Linked DNA regions of Homo sapiens: regions 1, 2, 3 and 5 are each linked to region 4. Evidence: promoter capture Hi-C in 16 types of primary human blood cells and fetal thymus (Javierre and others, 2016). All regions are on one chromosome and are shown on one strand. Each heading gives the region's core, a stretch centred on a gene start or on the middle of the fragment in contact. The rest is flanking DNA. Distances are from core to core; before and after follow the strand shown.

Region 1 (4,216 bases), core at 103-2,602, 580 kb before region 4:
TGCCTGAGTGTAGACTGGGTCCATGTGCCTACATGCATTCAGTTCCTCCCACCAAACTGGACAGTGATAGCTAACCCTGTTGACCCTTATGTCTGGGTGCCTTAAATTTGTGATGCCTCAAACTGACCTTCACAATGACTCTAAGGAGGTAAGTACTGTGAACTTTCCCGTTTTCTACAAGAAGAAACTGTGGCACGGAGAGATTCAGTTACTTGTCCAGGATCACAGAACTATAGTAAGTGGGGGTGGGGACAAGAATTCTAACCCAGGCAGCAGTCTGACCAGAGGGCCCTAGCTGGGAGCAGCGTTCATGTGCACTGTATGTTCGTGTTTAGTGTATGTCTGTGCATACTTGCGTGTGTGCACACGCACACATGTTCACTCAGGCACGTGGGCTGCCCTGCGGTGGGAGCTGAGAGAATGCAGTGGAGGTTGTTGGGAGGAACTCACCCGCCTGCTCTGGCTGTCTGAGCAGGTGAGGGATAGTGATATCAAGTGCGAAGACCAGGCCCTGAAGCCAGCCTGACGGTTCCAGCTGTTAGGAGAAAGTGAAGGTGGGTGCCATGGATCTGATGATTTCAGTGATTTTCTACTCAAGAAAAATGAAGTCTCGGATGGGCAGAGCTTAACTGCCTTAAAAACTTGGTACAGGGCAAGGTGTGAGTTTCCCGGTGAGACTGTGTGAACTGTGAACGGGTAGAGTCTGAAACTACAAACCAGATGTTTCCGGGCTCCCTCCCGCCTGGTCTGGCCTGTCTTCCTTCTGCTGCTATGCAGTTCATCCTGGGTCCCTGAGGGCCTCGCAGATGCTTCACTCGAAAGATTGGAGTTGCAGAGTCCCCTGTGGAGGAATTGAACTGCCCCCTCTCGCAGGACCCCAGCTGGCAAGGTTTTGTTCCTCCCTGGAGGGTAGAGACCCTCACTGAGGCCCTGGAGAGGGGCACTCAGGGGCAGCAGCTCATTCCCAAAGTTCTCTGGTGGAGCTGGGGAGTGGCACCCTGGGAACTCTGGGGTTTCCCCACCAGCTCCTCTCTCCAGTCTTTGGTGTCCAGGTACAGTCTCCAGGCCGTGGCTTCTCGAGTTCTGTATGTGGGTTGCTGCTCCGTAATGCATAGTTGGGGGACCATTTTGGTCAGTGACAGATCACTGCTGCTTTTCATCAGACCAAAATACATGTGGCTTCTTCTCCTTGCCAGCCCTACCAGGGCATCTCCCATTATACTAACCCTGCCTATTGGACCTTCTGATGCAAGGAGCAGATTAAAATCCCCTCCCTGTTGCCTACCAGGTCCGTGGCTACAACTAAATCCCTAGTTGGGGAATCACAGAGCACAGGTAAGCCCTTGGGTTCTGGAGCCAGCTTACTGGGGTGTGAGTCTTCCTTAGCTCCGTGTGGATGGTGAGCCCTCCTCTCTCAGGTCTCATGATAGTAGCTAACCCTTATTAAGTGTGTGCTGGGCACTGATTGAATGCTTTACAGGTGTCACCTTCTAAGACCCTCGTAACTCTAGCAGGTAGTACTATTATCTTACCCATTTTCCAGCGGGAGAAATAGAGGCAAGAGCAGACTAAATCACTTGCCCAAATCGCATAGCTACTGATGGTGTGATGTTGGGCAAGATATGTAACCTTTCCAAGTCTCAGTTTCCTTATCTGTTAAGTGCAGTTAATACACACAGCACCTAGCAGAGTGCTAAGCACATGGTAGGCACTCAACAGGCAAGGCCACTTAACAAGAGAATGTGAGCCCAGCTGGAGGAGAGAGAAAAATACAATGACTATAGCACTAATCATAGTAGTGATCAAATAAGTAATGCACTCCTGAATGCTTGACTTTCCTGAGTGCAAGGTAAACTCCCTGAGGGAGTTTGCCTTATTCACTTCTGGTTCAGTTCCGTGGCTTTGCACAGATCTGGCACAAGGTGGGTGCTTGGTGAAGGTTTGCTGAATGAATGAGGAACTGCTTTGGGGGTCCCAAGGGGTCATTCACAGCATCAGAGAGCCCCTTCCTAGCAGCCCTGCTCTCCCTGCCTTGTGGCTGTGATCTGAGTGTTTTTGCTTCATCCCTATTGGAGAGGAAGCTTCCCACACCAGGGCAAGCCTGGGTCTTGCCCACCTCTGTTTTCCTGATGGAGAAGATGCTCAGGGCCTGTGAGTGAAGTTGGACCTCCTTGTAGCTTGCCCTGGGTGCAAAACGATCATCCTTTTGGGCAGAAAACAGAAATTGTTGACAGCTACAGACCCAGAGATTCGAGTCAGCCAGGGGAACAGGGCTGTGCCCTTGGTGCCTCAGATTCCCTGGAGAGTGGGGTCTGGGATCATGGTGACCATGTAGATCCCTCCCTGCATCACACTAGTGAACGTTGTTTCTAAACCACACTCTCCCCTTCTCAGCATGGCGTGGCAAATAGCTGCTGCCCTTGTTCACCGAGAAAATCCTCCTGCCCTTGGCGTACCTGGCTCCTAACGAGTCCCTTATTTGGAAGGAATTCCCCCACCCCCATTGGTGTGTGACTCACCCTGAGCGAAATAACTGCTGGGCTGAGTTCTTACACAAACCCCCACCCCATCCCCTCATTCCCTAAAGACCTTGCCCTCAAGTCAACCAAGGCCTTGATCCAGAAGTGACAGAGAATGCGGAGTGTGAGGATGAGGATGATAAGGGGGACAATGAATTTCCAGGCAGGCCCAGCTCCCAGCTCCCATCCTCAGGAAACCCTGAGCCCTGCCTGCATCCTTTCCAGAAATGTGAGTCCCACCTTTCCAATTTCCTCTTACACCTCGTCTATATTTCCCACCCCCACGTCTGCATGACAGCGTGGCGTGCATGTGGCCCATCTGGGGATCAGGGAATCCTATTGGGTATGCCAGCTTAATGAAATACTTGCAGTTTATTACACTCAGGCTTTCCTAAGCCCCGCGTGCCTGTGGGTATTTGAAAGCTGAAGGTAACCCCAAGCTACCACAAATGTAATTGTTACATGTGTCCACGCATTCCTGGTGCAACCTCAAACTCCTGCTCTTAAGCAGCACACAAAATGAACCACATAAAGTAACTCCTAGTCAGACAACAGGGAGAAATGTGTGGAAATGCTGAGAGAGGCTCCCCAGAACCCCTCAGGGCCTCTAAAAGTATATGATGTTCCCATTACATTGCATAGCTCTGGCCACAGAGGGTGCTTCTCCCCCCTGGGCTGTTTGTTCGGTGTTTGCAGAATTGGTTCATTATGAGCAAGGCAGCCAGTGGGTTTTGCTTGTCAACCTTGCATGATGCAGCTCAAGTATTTCAAATCCTGTTTCATCTAGCAAAGGCTTGCTCTAGTGGCAGGGCTAGCAGAGTGCACTGTCTGGGGGTTCCCTCTGGAGCTGTATTTCTGTTCCTCCTCCAGGTCTTGGCTGGAGAGGGCTGTCCCAAGTCTGGGAAGGGCCGTGGAGAAACCCCAGGCAACCTGGATCTGCTACCCTGAACCAGGGGGAGGCTGCCCCTGGGAGATGCCTTCCCATTCGTCAGTTTCCTCAGCCTCAGGTCTGTAAATCAGGGGTGAAGGGCTGACATGGAAATAGCAGACAAAAGCCTCCAGGGATGTGCCTTCTTCTACGCGAACCAGCATCTGGATGCCTGAGAAGGAGACCCTGTTGACGGTGCTCAGGGGGACCTGCTCCAGGTACCTCAGCGTCAGCCCATTGACCCACACACAGCCCTTGCGGCTCAGGGCCTTGAGGCAGAAGGCCAGCAGGGCACTGCCTTTCTCCAGGTAGGGCTCCAGGGACAGGTGACGGCGGGAGAGGCGAGGGAGCTGCAGCTGGAGGTGGGCGTCCTGCCCCCGTCCGAGAAGCAGAGGGCTGGTATCATGCTGCAGCCGTGGTGGGACATTGGCAAAGGCAGATGGGCCCAGCGTGGGATGGTACAGGCTCACTCGCAGGACGGTGAGGGGCTTCTCCATGGAAGAAGTCCTGGGAAGTTGGAACATGGACACACAGGCTCAGCTTCAGTCAGAGACCTCTGTGGCTCCCTGAGCCCAGACACACTTGCCCACCTCAGGGGCCCTGTGCCTGTTCATACAATCACTCTGCCCAAGCCAGGATGGAGCCAAGGCTGGAATTGGTGTGGAAGGTCATGAGCTTAGTCTCTCTCATACTCTGAATAGAACATGCCACCCACTCTGTCTGACTTTTGGATTTCTGTAGTATAGATATATCTGTCCTTGTCTATGCA
Region 2 (3,951 bases), core at 619-3,118, 650 kb before region 4:
CACAACCCTTGCAATAGGAAAGAGTCAGGGGCTTTAACGGAGCTGTCTGAAGCTCTGTAAAACAGAGCTCATTTAACAAAAGAAATACTGAAAATAACAACCAGAAATCAAAGAAAAGCAAATGTTCACGTAATCCCAAGGAGAAAACATGTTTGCTACAAGGCCAACAACATGACAAGGAATCTGTTTATTGTATTTCTTTCGATTCATCATCCTTCCATCAGCAGTCCTTTGAGTTCAGAACTGTTTTACACCATCCCAGAAGGCCTTAACCCAATCAACCCCAATCGGAAGGTGACTGCTAAGAGCTTCCTGCATTCTGACCACACCACAACCTCCTCCAATTCCCTTGGTGGCTCTGAGTGTTTGCAGCCGCATCCCAGAATCCATTGCCCCCATCCCACCTTTTCAGGAGGTTGAGTGGCAGGGTCTGAAGCTTGCCCAGCCATCAGCTGGGAGCTCTGGGCCACAGCAAAGCTCTCCATCTGCTTGTCCCAGGGGCCTCAAAGGAACCAGAATTCCATAGAGAAAATAAAACCTACAGCAGTGATTGAAAGTAGTATTCCAAAGATGGTTCCAAGCCTGACACAAACTCCTCTACTGTTGTTAAGCCCACTGCAGACTCCTCCGAAAAGTCCAGGAGGAGCCAGGGGTCTCAGAGACAGCATTTGGTCCAGTCTTCTGCCTTCCCACAAAGTCTCCCAATAAGATGGAAATGCAGCTTAATTTGGGAATCTGTAAAGTAAGTTCCACTGACTGGAACTTTCAGCCCTATTTCAAAGTAAAAAATAAATAAGTTTACATTATACATAATAACACAGGGGAGCTATGATTCTTAGCAAACATTACCTTAATCTAACCCACCAACCCAACTCAGTGCCCGAATATCTTCCTTGTCAGGAAGTTTTCCTCTGCCTTCCTCACCTCTGGTGCTGTTTCAGCTGCCCGCTCTGTCTGCAGGGGAGGGCAGCAATCGCAAATGGCACTGTGGTGAGAGCCCGGGGTCTGCTGACAGACCGTCGGGGTTTGGATCCCAGCTCCTGTAATTATCTGTAAGATGTGGCCAAGTGCATCTAAGCCTCAGTTTCCTATTCTGTACAGGGGGAGTGATACCTGAGGTTACCTCTAGGCTTATGAGATTAATGAGTTACCAAGTAAAATGCTTAGTATACTCAGTAAATTCAAGCTACTACTGTTGAGGCTACAACTGCACTGTTAAAAAAGTGCGACAAGCTTGATTACCAGGAGAAAACTGCACTTCCTTTGCCTCGATTTCCTCTATCTATAACTGGATGATTTCGATGGATGGATTTGTGCCAAAAGGAGGAAAAAAGCAACAGAAAACCTGGTGTTTCCTCTGCCAATAGTTTACTCTTTGCTGTTATGCTTAACAGTTAACATATGTTTGAAAAATGCACTTGAACTCGATTAACCTCGGTGCTGCCAGACCTGCCTTGATGGAACACAGCACCCAGGGCGCCCCCACAGGCATCTCTACCTTGGAATGAGGTCTGGGGCTTTTGTCTGACCACAGCAGAGCGTGCAGAGCCAGTGGCTCAGGCAGTAGAAGTCAAGGCCCTGGGAAGGAGAAGGTGCCTGGGGAGGCCCTGAGAAACCTGTTCTACTCCAAGGCCTGGCTGGCAGCTGGGCAGGACCTCTGACCCACCAATCACTTGCTGTCAAGGACTCTCAATTAAGTTACAAGGAAATGGTTAATATGTATGTTTGTTTTGATAGGGAAAACCACAGCCATTTGTTCTTAATTCATCTCAGGAAGGGGTGAACAATCAGCGATGTCTGCTGAAATGAAATGATTTGAAGAGTATAATGTAAAGAGGAAACTCATTTAAGGAGCCCTGTCATGGTACGGTTTCCCAGATGGACTCAAAGCGAAAGAGCGAGGAGCAGAACAGTGAGTTTCGTGGGCTGCACTGTGTTGGGGGAGGAGGCGACGTCTGCAATCGGGCTACACATGTTCATCAAGACAGGGGAGCAGCTTCGCCCACTGGGAGCAGAATCAGGGACTTGGTCAGAGGGAGACGTTTTGCTCTACTCCCTTTTGTGCTGTTTGAATTTATCTTCTGCATATTTTCCTTTCAAAATGAAAATAATTATAACACTGGATAGATGAGAAGCTGCAGGCACTTCTGCTATCGGCTGCCCCAGCTGGCCTTTGGTACCACAGGTCACAAGCCCCCTTACCCTCAGACACTCTGTCCCAGCCTGCTTAATCCTGCTTCTCCCAAAAAATGGTTCTGAGCATGCGAAGACTTTCTAGGTTCTTTTTTCATGGCTGTTTTTAGAGCAGTGTGAGTGTGTCATAGAAAGGGAGGCCCCTGAGAGGGCACTATAGCTCCTGAGGTCTTTACCAGCCTGGCCTCTGTGCTGTCTGCCGGTGTGGATTCCCGATGCTGAGGACTGCTTGTCTAAGGATTTGCCTAAGCTCCAACACCTAGGATTCCACCTCCTCTTCGCTAAGGGGACAATGAAAGGACATTGGCCAAAAAGCTTCCCACTCTCCAGCCCTCCTCAGTGCCACTGAGTGACACAAGCTCCCCATACCTGACTGGGCACTGCCCTCTCCGACGCCTGCTGTGGCTCCTCAGGGCAGCTCTCTGCCCAGTACCTCGCTTGCTCTGCCACTGCTACAGCAGCAGCTCTAACATGCACCAGACCGCCCCTTCCCGGCGGGCCAGCACATGTCACTCCAGGGGACTTCGCCCCTCCTGTGCTCACACCCACCTCCTGCCTGTGCGCTCTAGACTTTCCTCATCCCTGTCCAGGGCTGCCTATCCTTCAAGGCCTATCTTGCAGGACCCCTGTCCTCCCTGCCCATACGAGGCCACAGGAATGTCTCTGGCAATCACCCATGACTGTTGCAGAGTCTGTCCCCTCAGGCTGTGTCTTCATCGAGCCAGCCTTGGGGACCGGGCATTTACCAGTCTTCCTGAGGTGTACGGTGGCTGCTTCAAGACAAAGGAAATGCCAAGTGGATGAAGTGCTCTGGGGTCCAATTCCTCTGACTGCTAAGGTTTCTGTGCTGTGTGATTTTGGAGAAGTTACTTAAACTCTGAACCTCAATTTACTCCTAAGAAAGCTAGGTGGTTTGAGGATTCGATGAATTACCAAATGTAAAGCATTTAATCAGTGCCTAGCACACAGTAACTGTTCAACATACGGCAGATGTTTTGGAACTTAACTGTTCCACCTTTACCTAGAATTCAGAGCACTTCCCCCGAAGTCCCTAAAACTAGTATTACAAGCCACAGTTAGAATATGAACTAGAGACTGCCAGGGCCTGGGGTGGGAGTGAAAGGGCAAGAAAAACAATGCTACTCAAGTTAAGTACCCTCATTTTCTGAATGAACAGCAGATATTGACTTTTAGCAGTCAATACTCAGATTTATAGAGGCAACATAAATGTGAACCAAAGACTACCTCAGCTACTAGTTACCACAAGGAGCATCAATCAGAATATCGATGGCAAGGGAAACCAACACATTAGCCATTTCCAGAGGCCTTGGGTTTGTTTCCACATGGCTCCCACAGCTCTGCAGGGAACGCGCCTTCTATAAAATCCCAGAGTGTCCCCTGTAGGCAGATGGGGTGATGTCAACCCCGTGAGAGGGTATCTCAGCACCAGGCGCTACTATCGGCCTTTAAAGAGCCCAGCACTGGGTGCCAGGGAACCCACATGTTCTAGCCACTAAATGGAAGATGCACTTGCCTAAAAAGGAAGCAGGTGGGGTGGGAAGAGGAGGAAGAAAGGGAGGGATCCAGGGTCAGAGAGTTAGGCTGAGTGGAGCAGCCTGGCAAACCCAAAGAGGTTTTATGTCATCTTCTTGGCAACCAGAACTGGAAGAGGGTGGTGGGAAGAGACGGAGGCTGACAATGATTAATACCCTTTGGGTTTGTCTTCTTGCTAGAGTTTATTTATAGCTCTGAGGAGTG
Region 3 (4,061 bases), core at 685-3,184, 540 kb before region 4:
CGGGGCACAGGTGAGCCCCAGCTTGCTTACAGCTGTTTCCTCACCCCCTAGTCCACCCTGATCTCTCCGCAGCCCTAGGAGCAGGGAGTTGTATGTAGAGGTGAGATGGGGTGGGGGACAAAGCCACTAGAAAAATGTTTTTCCATTTCTCCTTTTCTAGGAAGTCATTTTTGACCTCAGAAAATGCCTGAGAGGTCCTGCTTCTCTAGGCTGCTGCCTCATTTGGGGTCTGCATCTGGGTTGCCACTTCCCACCAGGATTCTCAGCAGGTGGGATGCATATCATCATGGGAGGATGTGCATGATGGTGGAAGATGACATTTATTGAGCCTTTACTCTGGTACCTGGCACTGGGCTAAGCTTCCTTAATGTGTTTAAGAACTCTATGAGGAGGGCATTATTATTATCCCCATTTTACAGAGGAGGAGACTGAGGCATGGACAGGCCAAGTCACTGACCAGGGATGTCCGTGGTAGGTGGCAGAGCCCTGCCTGGTTCAGAGGACATTGAGGAATTGGCCATGAACTGTCAGGCTTTCTAGGAAGTTGCCCCTTATTGGGCCCCTGTTTAGACAAAACAAAACAAAACAAAACAAAACAAAACAAAACAAAACACTCCAGTTTATTTTTTCCAAAAAAGAAAATCAATGGAGCATGCCTGACCACCTTCGACCACCATATTGACCACCAACAGCCAGCCTCCTCCTTTCCGAAATCTTCATCCCAAACTCATCTATCCTGTGTGTGCTGAGCACTAAGCCAGGGCCCAGGGGAAGAGCAACCAAGCAGAGATCACTCCTTGCTATGTGCTGGGCCTGTGACAAATGCTTTCCAAAACCCCTGGCCTTCATAATCCTTACCATTTGGTGATCAGAGCTGACCCTGCTGGTCTGTGATGCAGTAATGAGGGGGGTGAGCCCCAAATGAGGAAATAGGGTCTCAAAGCAAGGGCCAATATCTTGCCTAGTAATGTGGAGTCTAGACAGGAACTAGGATTGTCTGACTTGGGAACTCACACTTTGATTCACTTAGGTCCCCACACAGCTTGATGATCTTCTGTGCAATTTTTTTTTTGTTTTGAGATGGAGTCTCGCTCTGTCGGCCAGGCTGGAGGGCAGTGGCACGATCTCGGCTCATTACAACCTCCGCCTCCCGGGTTTACGCCATTCTCCTGCCTCGGCCTCCTGAGTAGCTGGGACTACAGGTGCCAACCACCACGCCTGGCTAATTTTGTTTTTTCGTATTTTTAGTAGAGATGGGGTTTCACCGTGTTAGCCAGGATGGTCTCGATCTCCTGACCTCGTGATCCACCTGCCTTGGCCTCCCAAAGTGCTGGGATTATAGGCGTGAGCCACTGCGCCCGACCTTCTTGGAGTGACTTCTAAATGGGTGAGATGTTGGCAACAAGTCCTTCTCTGTCACTTCTAATTCAGATGAATGTGGGCAGGGTGTACTGGGAAGCTCAGAAGCCCATGCACTCTGTTTCCTGGGCCCTATTTGACTCTGAGACACACACACACACAGAGGCACAAGGACACGCAGCCCTTACATGGGAGTCTTTTGGAGATGTGCTTTAATGCGTAGAGAAGAGTCTTTCATTAGCATTGAAATAGGTGCTCCAGAGAGCACTTGAAAGCTGTTTGCTCTTTCAAGTAGGCTAAAAGTCCCCAGCTCTCTGGAGCCTGCACCGTGGCTGGCCTTACGCCTCTCCTGGAGGAGCCTGCTCCAGACTGGGATGTGGGGTTTTCAAGCCAGCTGCTCCTCTCACCATTCCCAGGAGCATTTTGCACATCCCAGCTGTGGGTTTTGATCCGGGGAATGTGAACAGAGGGGCCCTTGTGGAGCCCAGGCCTGGCCCAGCTCGTCCCTCCTGCAATTGTCCTACCCAGGGTGACCACCTCTCTCCCTCTGGGCTTCCCTTCACTCAGGCAGGACTGATCTGGCTTAAAGAGGCTGTGTCCCTGCTGGGCCTCTTGGCCTCTATGTCCCCCCCAGGTGGCCTCTGGGCAGACTGATGCCGGATTTGCACTCACTTAGCCTGGAGAAGAAGTTGGGGACCGATGGCCAGAGATCAAAGGTTAAGAGGGGTTAAGCCTTCACCCCAGAAGGTCACCCATCAGCCCTGAGACAAGTATCTCACAGGTATTTTCCTGAAACCTAGAGCAGAGTTAGGCCTTCAGGGAATGTTCATCTACTTACAGTCATACGACTGAATGACAGGGATATGTTCAAGAAATGAATTGTTCAGTAAGTTTGTGGTTGTGCAGAATCATAGAGTGTACTTACACAAGCCTAGATGGTATATATGCTTTTATTTATATATTTTTATATGGAAAACCAAATGTCCAAGCACCATTACTGATAATCAGTCATCTCTCCTACTTGATCTGCAATGTCAGTATCAAGTGCCATATGTCAGATTTCTATATGTGCTCCCTTATAATCTTATGGGACCACTGTCATATAAGTGTGGTCTATTGTTGACTGAAAAACGTTGTTGTGCAGTGCAAGACTGTACTAAGGAAACACCATCCTCCCGGTATAGAAGGTCCATACCCCAGATTTTATGCAAGTCACTGCCTCCTAGGGTCTGTTTCCCCATCTTCCGAATAAGGAGTTTGGACTTGACTGATTGACAATCAGTGGCAGATACTTCATTATCTTGGTCAATTAGAGCCCTTAATACATTTCTGCTCTCAGGCAATGAGAGGAAATTAGTCTAGACAAGACAGATAAAAGGGAAAAGGATGGTTGGACTTGATCAGAATTCCTAAGGGAGGTTGTAACATTGTTTTCCTGAGGATCTTGGTGATCAGAGCAGACCCTGCTGGTCTGTGATGGAGCAATGAGGAGGGTGAACCCCAAGCTGAGACTTAACCCCTTCCCATCTGCCCACCTTCCTTTCCCCTTCCCAAGAGGCTATGGTGAGCAAATGGCTTTGATTCAGAGGGGCCTGATTCATCAAGCCTGATCCAAGCTCGAGGGTTCTGATTTGTCCTGAGCACACAGTAGAGTTCCATCCAGTGGGAATGGGTGGGATATTATCCTACCTGCCTGCCTCTCAGCCAGGGGCAGTGCTATAGTGCACCAGTCAGGATGGTGGCAACCCAGAGGTGTGCGCTTCATGCAGAATGGACACACCAAGTGTTGTGGACAGCTGCAAAAAGCACCACCAAGGCTACACCTTTGATGGGCATTGTGTGAGCAAGACCCGGTGGAGAAGGAAATTGAAGGGAAAGAAATTTCACAGGCTGAACTTTTCCCCCTGCAGGGGCTCTCTGTTCCCATTCAGAGGAGTGCTCAAACTGTCTCTCCACGGCACTTGGGTCAAGGCCACAGGCTCTTCCAGGACTGTGGAGGAGTCCCATCTTGGTGGGTCAAAGGAAGGCAGCTGGTCTGGAGAAGGCACACCCGATGTTGACAAGGGGGCACTGAGGACCTGCTGGGGCTTCCTAGCATGGCTCTGGAGTCAGGAGGAATGTGGGTTAATCCCAGGCTCCATTTCTGGCTGTGAAGCTTGGACAGGCAACTTAACTTCTCTGTGGTTCCCCCCATCAGATCTACACACCGGGGTAATAATGGAGCGTCCGTGAGCAGGCACGTGAAAACACACAGAGAGCGCCAGCAGCGTAAGTGCTCAACAACTGATAAGCACACTACAAATAACAAGAAGAGGGTGCCAGGCATTGAAAGAATACGATGTTCAAAGTGATTACTCCACTGTGAGTACTACCTGTTACTTTTTGTGGCCTTTGATCCAATCAACAGTCCCATGGAGGGGAACTGCTGCTGTCCCCATTCTACAGAGGAGCCCACTGAGGCTTGGAAGTGGGCTTGGGTTTGAGCCAAACCTTGGATTCAGAGCCCTATGCTTACCCTGACCTTAGGCCTTGGGCACGGTGCTCCATAAGGGCAGAAGGCTGTGCCTACCTTCATCCGTGAAGAAGGGTGGAGGGGCTGAAGGAACACCCATGTCCCTGGGAGAAAGAACTGGAGAGAGGTGAAAATGGAAGATTTTAAAGGCAGAAGTAGCTGTTGCTCTCATGGCTTGGCTCCTGGCTGC
Region 4 (3,896 bases), core at 407-2,906:
ACCCCTCCTTGACTACAACCCCACATTCTCTACTTCCTGGGCTCTTCTGTCACTGGAGGATGACTCCCAGGTGTGAATCTTCATCCCGCGTCCCTCACTCAAGCCCCCGATCCTCATATCCAGCTTTATCCTCATGGGATGCTTCACCAGGATGAGTCATAAGCACCTCAGACTCAGGGTGTCCCAAACCACTCATCTACCTGGCAAGCCTGCACTCTGCATGTGCCTCATTCTGAACATGGCACCATCACCTGCTGCAATGTCCAGACCACAAACACCCTACAATATCCTTGACTCTCCTTTCTCCCCTTCTCCCTGTATACAGACTCCAAATTCTATTGAGACTATTACCTCCTACACCCCTCACATTTGCCCAGCCTTCCCCATCTCTGCCTCTACCACCATAGTTCAAGCTCTCCCATGGTCCCTTCCTGGTTACCTGTTCTTCTTGCCTCCTTAAGCCTCTCATGACACTGGCCATGTCACTTGCCTCCACCCATCACCCGCTAGGCTCTTAGCTGGAGTCTGGGCCCTGCTACCTTCCTCCCCTTCTTCCCTACCCTTGACTCCACCTCCCTGTGCTTCAGCCAACCAGATAACTTGAGTTTCGTGAATGCATGCCTCAGTTTACCTGATTAACTCATTTTCATCTTTCAGGCCTCAGAGCAGGTATCACCCTGTCAGGGCCAGGTGCCTCTTCTTAGCTCCCAAAGCCCCAGCTACTCTTCATGGAACATCATTGGCTTGGGCTACGGATCTTCCCAAATTGGAGCTTTTTCACAAAGGGCTTAGGTCTCACTCATTCTATTAATCCATCTGTGTCTCCCCAGGGCTAGCAGTGCCAAGTAACTGACAGGTGATTAATAGATGCTTGGGTAAGTATCACCTCTTTACCATGTGACAATTTGTTTACCTGCCTTGAGCTCCTCCAGGGCAGGACTCTTGCCTTTGCAGAATCTATCTGGCAGGTACTGTTGCAGAGATGTTTACTGAAGAAGGGAATGAATTAGTACCAAGGTGAGGACCCCACCCTTCCCCACGGGCTCCAAAAGCAGCTTAGAGCCCAACAAAACCTGCCCCACATTTTTGGCGTTTCTGTGGATCACACGATTTACTCATCTGTCTTTCAATGAGCATGACAGGTGGGGTGGGGGTGGAGGGATTAGAGATTGAGGAGCTGGGGAGGGTGGTCAGCTCCTGGGGTGCAGAAACAAGTCTGATGGGCCATGGTGTTCTGGGAATCAGCACTGCCTCCCCTCACCCCTCCCTGCAGTGTTTTGTAGCCTCAAGATCAGTGAGGGAATCTTCGGGCCCCCAGCATGCAGGACCGAAGCCCCCGAGACAGCTGTCCCTCAGTCCCAAGGTCCCCATTTGGAAGCAGCCACAGGAGGCCTAAGGGACCTATACCCTTGGTTTGAGGAAGACTGTGGCGAGGGAGAGAGGGAGGGAGGGCTGGCAGTGAGGGCAAGGGCTGGGAAAACTGAGCACGGGCACAGTGCGGGAGCGGGTGGGTGCCCAGGGCAGCCAGGGGCGCACGGGTTGGGAGGCGCCAGGCGGCCCGCCCTCCTTGCACGGGCCGGCCCAGCTTCCCCGCCCCTGGCGTCCGCTCCCTCCCGCTCGCAGCTTACTTAACCTGGCCCGGGCGGCGGAGGCGCTCTCACTTCCCTGGAGCCGCCCGCTTGCCCGTCGGTCGCTAGCTCGCTCGGTGCGCGTCGTCCCGCTCCATGGCGCTCTTCGTGCGGCTGCTGGCTCTCGCCCTGGCTCTGGCCCTGGGCCCCGCCGCGACCCTGGCGGGTCCCGCCAAGTCGCCCTACCAGCTGGTGCTGCAGCACAGCAGGCTCCGGGGCCGCCAGCACGGGTAAGCCGAGCCGCCTGGCCAGGGGCTGCGGAAGGTCAGGTAGTCGGGGCTCGGAGCGCAAGCCGCTGGGGGCATTGAACTGGGCTGGGGGCGCAGGGGACAAAGCCCGAACTAAAAACCTTGCAGCATGGAGCGCTCGGACACCAGCCCTGCACGCGGTGGAAGGAGAGAGGGAGGGAGGTGGAGGACCATGGAGGGAAAGCGGGAGGCCGCCGCTTTGTAGAAGGGAGTGGGGAAGTGGACCAGAGACTTTCGACGCAGGCCAAGAGCCTGAGACGGACAGCGCTTTCAGCTTCTCCTCCCAGCCACTGCAGAAAGGGGGAAATGGCAACTCTTTGGCCATAATCACCGTGGGAGGGTGCCAAGGGCAAAGCCCACCCAGCAGTACACCTATTCCAACCCAGCCAGGCCCCCGGCCAGCGACTCCAGACAAGAACCTGGGCCACACACGGTGGCAGCATCTAAGGTGCCCCAGGCTCCTGTGCTCCTGGCCAGGCCCTGCACTCAGACACTGCTGGCACCCGACACTGCTCTCTGGGTACAGCAAGGGCAATGTGGCACTTCTTGTCCTGCCCGATGAAGAGCAGGAGAATGCACTGGGCCCTCACACACACTGTTCAAATGGGGAAACTGAGTCCTGAGTGGTTCCACTTTCCCACAGTCCTGAAGTGTGCACTGGAGCCAGGATTGGAGTCTGTCTTAAAGTAATAGCTGGGTTTGTAAATGTAGGACACTATCATTGCAGGAATTCCTTTGAGACCCTGAAGATGTGTTGGCTTTAGGAGACAAACTCAAGCAGAAGGTCTGGTCTGATAGTGGCCCTAATACTGACCCAGGCAGAGGCAGGCAACATTTCTACCTCAAAAACCAGGCCATACCTGCGTCACAAATACCCAGGCTTTGCTGCAGCTTCCAGCCTACCTGGTTGCACCAACTTCTTTTTCATAACTAGGTAAAACTATATATGAGTAGAATCTTGTAGTGACTCCTCAGAGGAAGCCTAAATACCATCGGGGTCTGGCGTTCACACCCACAAGCAATGCCCAAACCTCCAAGAGACTGGGCAGATCTGTGCTCAAATCAAAACTCATTGTTGGGGGTGATAGAGTTGACTTCACAGGCCCTGAAAGTCTTGGCTCCTTGCACTAGGAGTGCTCTGGGTACGGGTACAGGCTGCCCCTTGTAGGGCATAGTTGCTCTTGTTTCCTCTACTTGTGGCTTTATGGTCTAGGCCTTTCAGGAGTTTGGGGCTCTGGCGGAGAGGGCCTGCTGGGAGCACATCTGGCCACCCTGCAGAGTGAAATCAAACCAGGCCTGGCTGCAACCTCAACACCCTCCTGGAAAGAGGAGAATACTGGGGATATCCTGGGGTCTTTCTGGAAGTGGGAGAATCAGCTTTGACTTGGGCAGTGTGCAGAATAGAGTGAGGGGGGATGTCAGAAAGATGAGAGGGATATGAGGCCTCAACATCAAAATGCAAGCACCTGGCATTTTTATTATCTCTGCCCACCTCTCCGTTGGTCTCTCTGCCTTTCCTGCCAATGAATTGTGTTATGTTTGGGTGCCTCAATTTGCCTAGGAGGGTTCTATTTCTTCTGTATCTTCGCCACTAAGTCAGGAGAAGATCCTTATAGCATGCCCTGCAACAGTGTCACCTGTAAGGGCATCTCTCTGCACAGCCACAGTGAAGGATCCTCAAAGGTATTGAGGGCTTTCCATCAAGAGCCATCTTTACAGCAAACCTCTTTCCCTTCAGAGCCCAGAAGAGTGCTGACCAGCTGGAAAACAGGGTTTTTTTCTTAAATGCAGATGCTCTTGATTATGAGTTCCAGATATTAGATCAACTTCCCCACCATACCCCTGCAGGCAAAGCCTCTTAATTAGCTTCCTGCAGCACAGCTGGAAAGGCCTATTGTAATCTGTGATGGGCAGAGTAATCTAAGAAGTCACAGGAGCACCCCTGTCCCAGTAGAATCTGGATGCGCAGGCACATGAACCATGGCAAAATGGTTGCAGGCACAGTTGTATTTACTCTGAT
Region 5 (4,118 bases), core at 494-2,993, 560 kb before region 4:
TCCCAGGCCCTACTCTAAGAAGGTATGTCATTATGAGTGCTAGGGGGCACTGTTGGGCAACTTTTGTGCACAGGAAATTGCCTGCTTGTGTGTTTTCAGAGGACGCGACGCTCGGTGGGGACAGCTGTCCCCACCCTCAGGCAGCTCTCAGGGACTCGGCATAGTTGCTCCCCCTGCAGGGCTAGAGCTACCTCCATGTCACCTCTTCAAGGCTGAAGGCTCTTGGAGGAATTAACTCTGCCCACCTCAGCTCAGGTGGAGAGCTGCCCTGCGAGATGTGAGTAGGGCTGCCTTTCCCTCCTCCCTTTCTCAGTCTTTAATTGACAACTGCTTGGCCTGGATGATTTTTTAGATAGGAGCTGAGGTGCCCCCCACCCCCGCCTTCCAACAACAGCACCCAGGAAAATCAAGGACACAACTTTTTATTCAATTCTGGTATTTGTTCTCATTGTTGGAATGATGAATGTCACAACTCTATTATTTGTTGGAAGTGTTTGTTGCAGACGTGCAGCTGCATCGGAATTCAACTGAATTCTGATGTTTTCACTTGGGAGAATCGAATTCCCCCATGGATCCTGCAGGGAAAGTGGTCCTAATGTTCAGGACAGGCACCCCAATCAAGCTAGGAGCCACCTGGATTTGGTGCCTTCTGCCTCAGTGGGTCCCTGTCCGCAAAGAAGAAACTAGCAGCTACTATGGGCCACACAGTGTGGTATTGTATACATTTTGTCCAAGTTGTCAACATTTTAAAATTGGAAGCCTGGAAATAAAACCCTCAATTTTTGCAGCTTCAGCTGAAAAGTCAGGAGATGAGGCTGGCCTGGGCTCGGGTTCCTGCAGGGCACTCGTCTGCTGGTGCAGACGCTTGGCGCTCCATCCCAGTTTGCCTCAGTTCCCCCAGTCCTGTTTCGTATATATTTATTTTATGTTCTAGGCTCCTGTAAGCCTTTGAGTTTGCAATCCTTTTGTGAGGTGTGGTAAACCCTAGTTAGCCAAAATGTAATTTTTTCCTTAGGACATGAGCCCCCGCAGAACCAAATAACAGAAATCACCATGAAGGAGCCAAAGTCTACACGTGAGTTGGGGCATGGGGCAGATAGCCTGGGTGGCTGGTGTTAGTTCCAGACAGACTGGAGTGCTCAGGGTCTCTCTATTGGGGCAAATCTCTCTGCTCCATCTTCATGTGGCCTTCTTCTCCGAGTGTGAAATCTCCCACCACCTTCCTGTGATGAGGATACTGTCGTTGTATTTAGGGTCAATCCAGATAATCTAGGGAAATCTCCCCATCTCAAGATCCTTAATTTGATCCCATCTTTTGCCACATGAGGTGACAGTCACAGGTTCCAGGGTTTAGGAAGTGGGTGTGTCTTTGGGGCCACTACTAAGCCTATCACGTTTGGCAAGCCTTCCTTCAGGAAGCTTGCATTCTAGAGACAGTCTGGAAAGGAAGGAGGAAACGAATAGGAATGGTGAGCATGTAGCTGCGGTGGGGGATGACTGTGCATTCAGAAACCCCCCCTGGGGAGATTCTGGTTCATCAGAGGCTGAAGGGAGTAAGGCAGCAGGCCGAGAGGTCCTGAGTGCAAATGCCCTGAAGCAGCAGCCTTGGTTAGACAGGGAACTGCCTGCAAGCGAAGGGAAGAGCAGTAACAGAGAGATGGCTGGAAACCAGGTGGGGTTAGATAGTCCTTGCAGGGCCTTTTAGATTCTGGTAGAGGGTTTGGATTCTATTCCAAGACAATAAAGGAGCTGTTGAAGGATGTCGGCTGTCGTGGGATGTGAGCCACTGAGGATGGTGCCTGAGATGGGGCAAGGCTAACAGATGCCCCTTACTCAGAGATCACCCCTTAGAGAGGTAGGGGTGGAATGGGAGGCTGCCTCTCTGGTGCACTATTGCCTGGCTACAGGCTTTGCTGGCCCCAGGTGCCCCTTTCGCTGGGCGCCTCCCGTGCTCCAGCCATGCTGCGAAAACTCAACACCCACATTTGTAACAGGGTGTTCTAGCCAAGATGGGACTCCAGCATTTTTGAAATCTCAGATCCTGTGCTTTTACCTTTAAGCTAAAGGTGAAGCTTTAAGAAGCCAGATTGCCTGGGTTTGAATCTGGAGACAGACACTTAACTATGTGAATGTGGGGGACCCCCATAACCTTCGTATACTTATTTTCCTCCTCTAAAAAATGCAGACAAAATGGTGACTGCCTCACAGTGTTGTTGGGAACTGGTGAAGGGATAAACAGGCACACAGCTTACACAGGATCGTGGACTAGGAATCAGAAAATCAATGTCAACCGTTGTCATTTTATTTTTATTTTACTTTATTTTTTTGAGACACAGTCTCACTCTGTTGCCCAGGCTGGAGTGCAGTGGCGTGATCACAGCTCACTGTAGCCTTGACCTCTGGGGCTCAAGCCATCCTTCCACCTCAGCCTTCTCAGTAGCTGAGACCGCAGGCACACATCATCACACCTGACTAGTTTTTGTTTCTATTTTTTTTTGTAGAGACCAACCTATGTTGCAAGGTTGATCTCGAACTTCTGGCCTCAAGTGATCCTCTTCCTGCCTCAGCCTCCCAAAGTTCTGGGATCACACACATGAGCCTGGCCCATTAGACTTTTAGTTTCTGTAGGAGGCATCTTTGAGAGCAGCCTATTCTTTGTGTTTTGAAAAAGGGAAAAAAATTAACAGGGCATTTGATTTTACATAGAAAAAGCCAAGCTGCAGCTCTGGGATGCAGAGGTTCCAGGCAGCAAAAGAAAAATACTGAGAGTTTTGTTTTGTAGAATCACAGCAAAGGTTGTCTTCACTCAGGGCAGAAATGTGAGGAATTGCAGAAATAGAAAGGAAGCGAGTTTCCTTACAGAGTCTCAGAAAGCTGGAGGAGTGTGTTGTTGGAGGAGAGGGCCATATGGTTGGGGCAGTCCCTCTTCGAGGGGATGCTGACCCCTTTGTGGGCTGTGGTTTCAGGACTTTGAGCCTAGCCGCACCCAGGAGCTAGTTTGCAGGTTTCCATCATGCTCTGTTGTTCTCTCCTAGTATTATCCCAGTCAGGTCTGGTCCTACTTTGCTTTAAGATGTAGCAGCAGTCTTGACCACGTGTGAGCCGAAGCATTGTGGGGAGCAGTGGGGCCTGGGAAAACTTGTTATGAGATGTCGAGAGATCACCCGAGATAAGGAGAGTGGGGAGCTTGAGTCAGGAGGTGAGATGAGGGAATACCAGCCACAAGCTGGTATCGCCAGGGTGGGCAAGCTCAACCTGTTGATTCCCAGGGCACAGAGGGAGGGGAGCTGGATGAAAGTTGGCCATACGATGACCAAGGAGGATGAAGGCTGGGTCTCTTCTGCTATCGGACACTAAAGGGCAGCCAGACCCTCGGGAACAGTGGGTGTCTGGCATCTGGGTTACATCTGGCTTACATCCTCATAACTATCCTACCATGGGGTACTATCATGGGGCTTGTTTTACAGATGGGGAAGCTAAGGCGCAGAGAGTAACTTGCTCTCAGTCACACAGCTGGTAAGTGGCAGAGTTGGTATGTCCACTGGGTCTGACTAACCCCAGCCCCTGCCGGTCCCCCAGGGAGCAGGCCCTTGCCCCGGTTCTGCAGGAACTGCAGTCATTGGCTCCTGCTCAAAGCCTCCCAATAAAGAGAATTTGGGGGAAATCCCTTCCGCAGGAGAAGCTGGTGAAAGACAAGCCCCCTTCCTGGATATTCTCAGCACAATTCAGGACTTGCTAATTACTCCTGGGCCCTACCTTTCTCTTCTCAAGTAGGCGGCAAAGTTTACTGGTGATTGCGAAGTGATTGCAGAGCGGTTGGAGAGTGAATGGATCCGGAGCAGCGTAGCAAACAGCGCAGTCTGGGGGGCTCCATCCCGCCGCAGGGCCAAGGCCTTTCCTGCCAGTCCGACGAACTGCCGGTAGATGGCACTCTGAACCCGTTCCCCGGCCCCCTCCACGCCCTGGATCCGCCGTCTGCGCCGGTGCGGGACTCCCCGGGAAGCGCCTGCGATTTCAGAGTAAGAGCTGTTTCTGCACTGCTCCAGTCCTGCATTTAACAGACGCTTATGCAGCACCTGCTGAGTACCAGGGTCTGTCCTGTGTGCTGGGTGTTCAGC

Evidence for each region. The method cuts DNA at HindIII sites, captures the fragments that hold promoters and counts their contacts. A CHiCAGO score of 5 or more calls a contact.
Region 1: a contact is called between the fragment with the promoter of DCANP1 here and the fragment with the promoter of TGFBI in region 4, in 3 of 17 cell types (M0 macrophages, M1 macrophages and M2 macrophages). The highest score is 12.0, in M0 macrophages.
Region 2: a contact is called between a fragment that was not itself captured here and the fragment with the promoter of TGFBI in region 4, in 1 of 17 cell types (M0 macrophages). The highest score is 5.4, in M0 macrophages.
Region 3: a contact is called between a fragment that was not itself captured here and the fragment with the promoter of TGFBI in region 4, in 1 of 17 cell types (M0 macrophages). The highest score is 5.6, in M0 macrophages.
Region 5: a fragment that was not itself captured here is called in contact with the fragment with the promoter of TGFBI in region 4 in 1 of 17 cell types (M1 macrophages); the score reaches 5.7 in M1 macrophages.

What each region holds. Positions count from the first base shown.
Region 1 is chr5:135,445,996-135,450,211 of GRCh38, forward strand. DCANP1 (dendritic cell associated nuclear protein 1) reads right to left here and starts at 1,353. Exons shown (of 1, transcript NM_130848.3): 1 at 1-1,353. The coding sequence starts at 1,113. The coding sequence ends at 379. TIFAB (TIFA inhibitor) reads right to left here. Exons shown (of 2, transcript NM_001099221.2): 2 at 1-3,954. The coding sequence starts at 3,944. The coding sequence ends at 3,459. RefSeq lists enhancers at 3,222-3,723, 3,724-4,216. The HindIII fragment of the contact is 6,394 bases long and covers 1-2,079 here.
Region 2 is chr5:135,375,615-135,379,565 of GRCh38, forward strand. All of the region lies in intron 2 of MACROH2A1 (macroH2A.1 histone), which reads right to left. Among named protein-coding and RNA genes, the nearest start is that of MACROH2A1, 22 kb to the right of the region's middle. The HindIII fragment of the contact is 1,275 bases long and covers 1,232-2,506 here.
Region 3 is chr5:135,483,050-135,487,110 of GRCh38, forward strand. No RefSeq gene overlaps it. Among named protein-coding and RNA genes, the nearest start is that of TIFAB, 33 kb to the left of the region's middle. RefSeq lists an enhancer at 1,506-2,354. The HindIII fragment of the contact is 3,155 bases long and covers 358-3,512 here.
Region 4 is chr5:136,027,332-136,031,227 of GRCh38, forward strand. TGFBI (transforming growth factor beta induced) reads left to right here and starts at 1,657. Exons shown (of 17, transcript NM_000358.3): 1 at 1,657-1,858. The coding sequence starts at 1,725. RefSeq lists an enhancer at 3,874-3,896. The HindIII fragment of the contact is 4,637 bases long and covers 1-3,896 here.
Region 5 is chr5:135,462,363-135,466,480 of GRCh38, forward strand. No RefSeq gene overlaps it. Among named protein-coding and RNA genes, the nearest start is that of TIFAB, 12 kb to the left of the region's middle. RefSeq lists a silencer at 3,814-3,953. The HindIII fragment of the contact is 653 bases long and covers 1,418-2,070 here.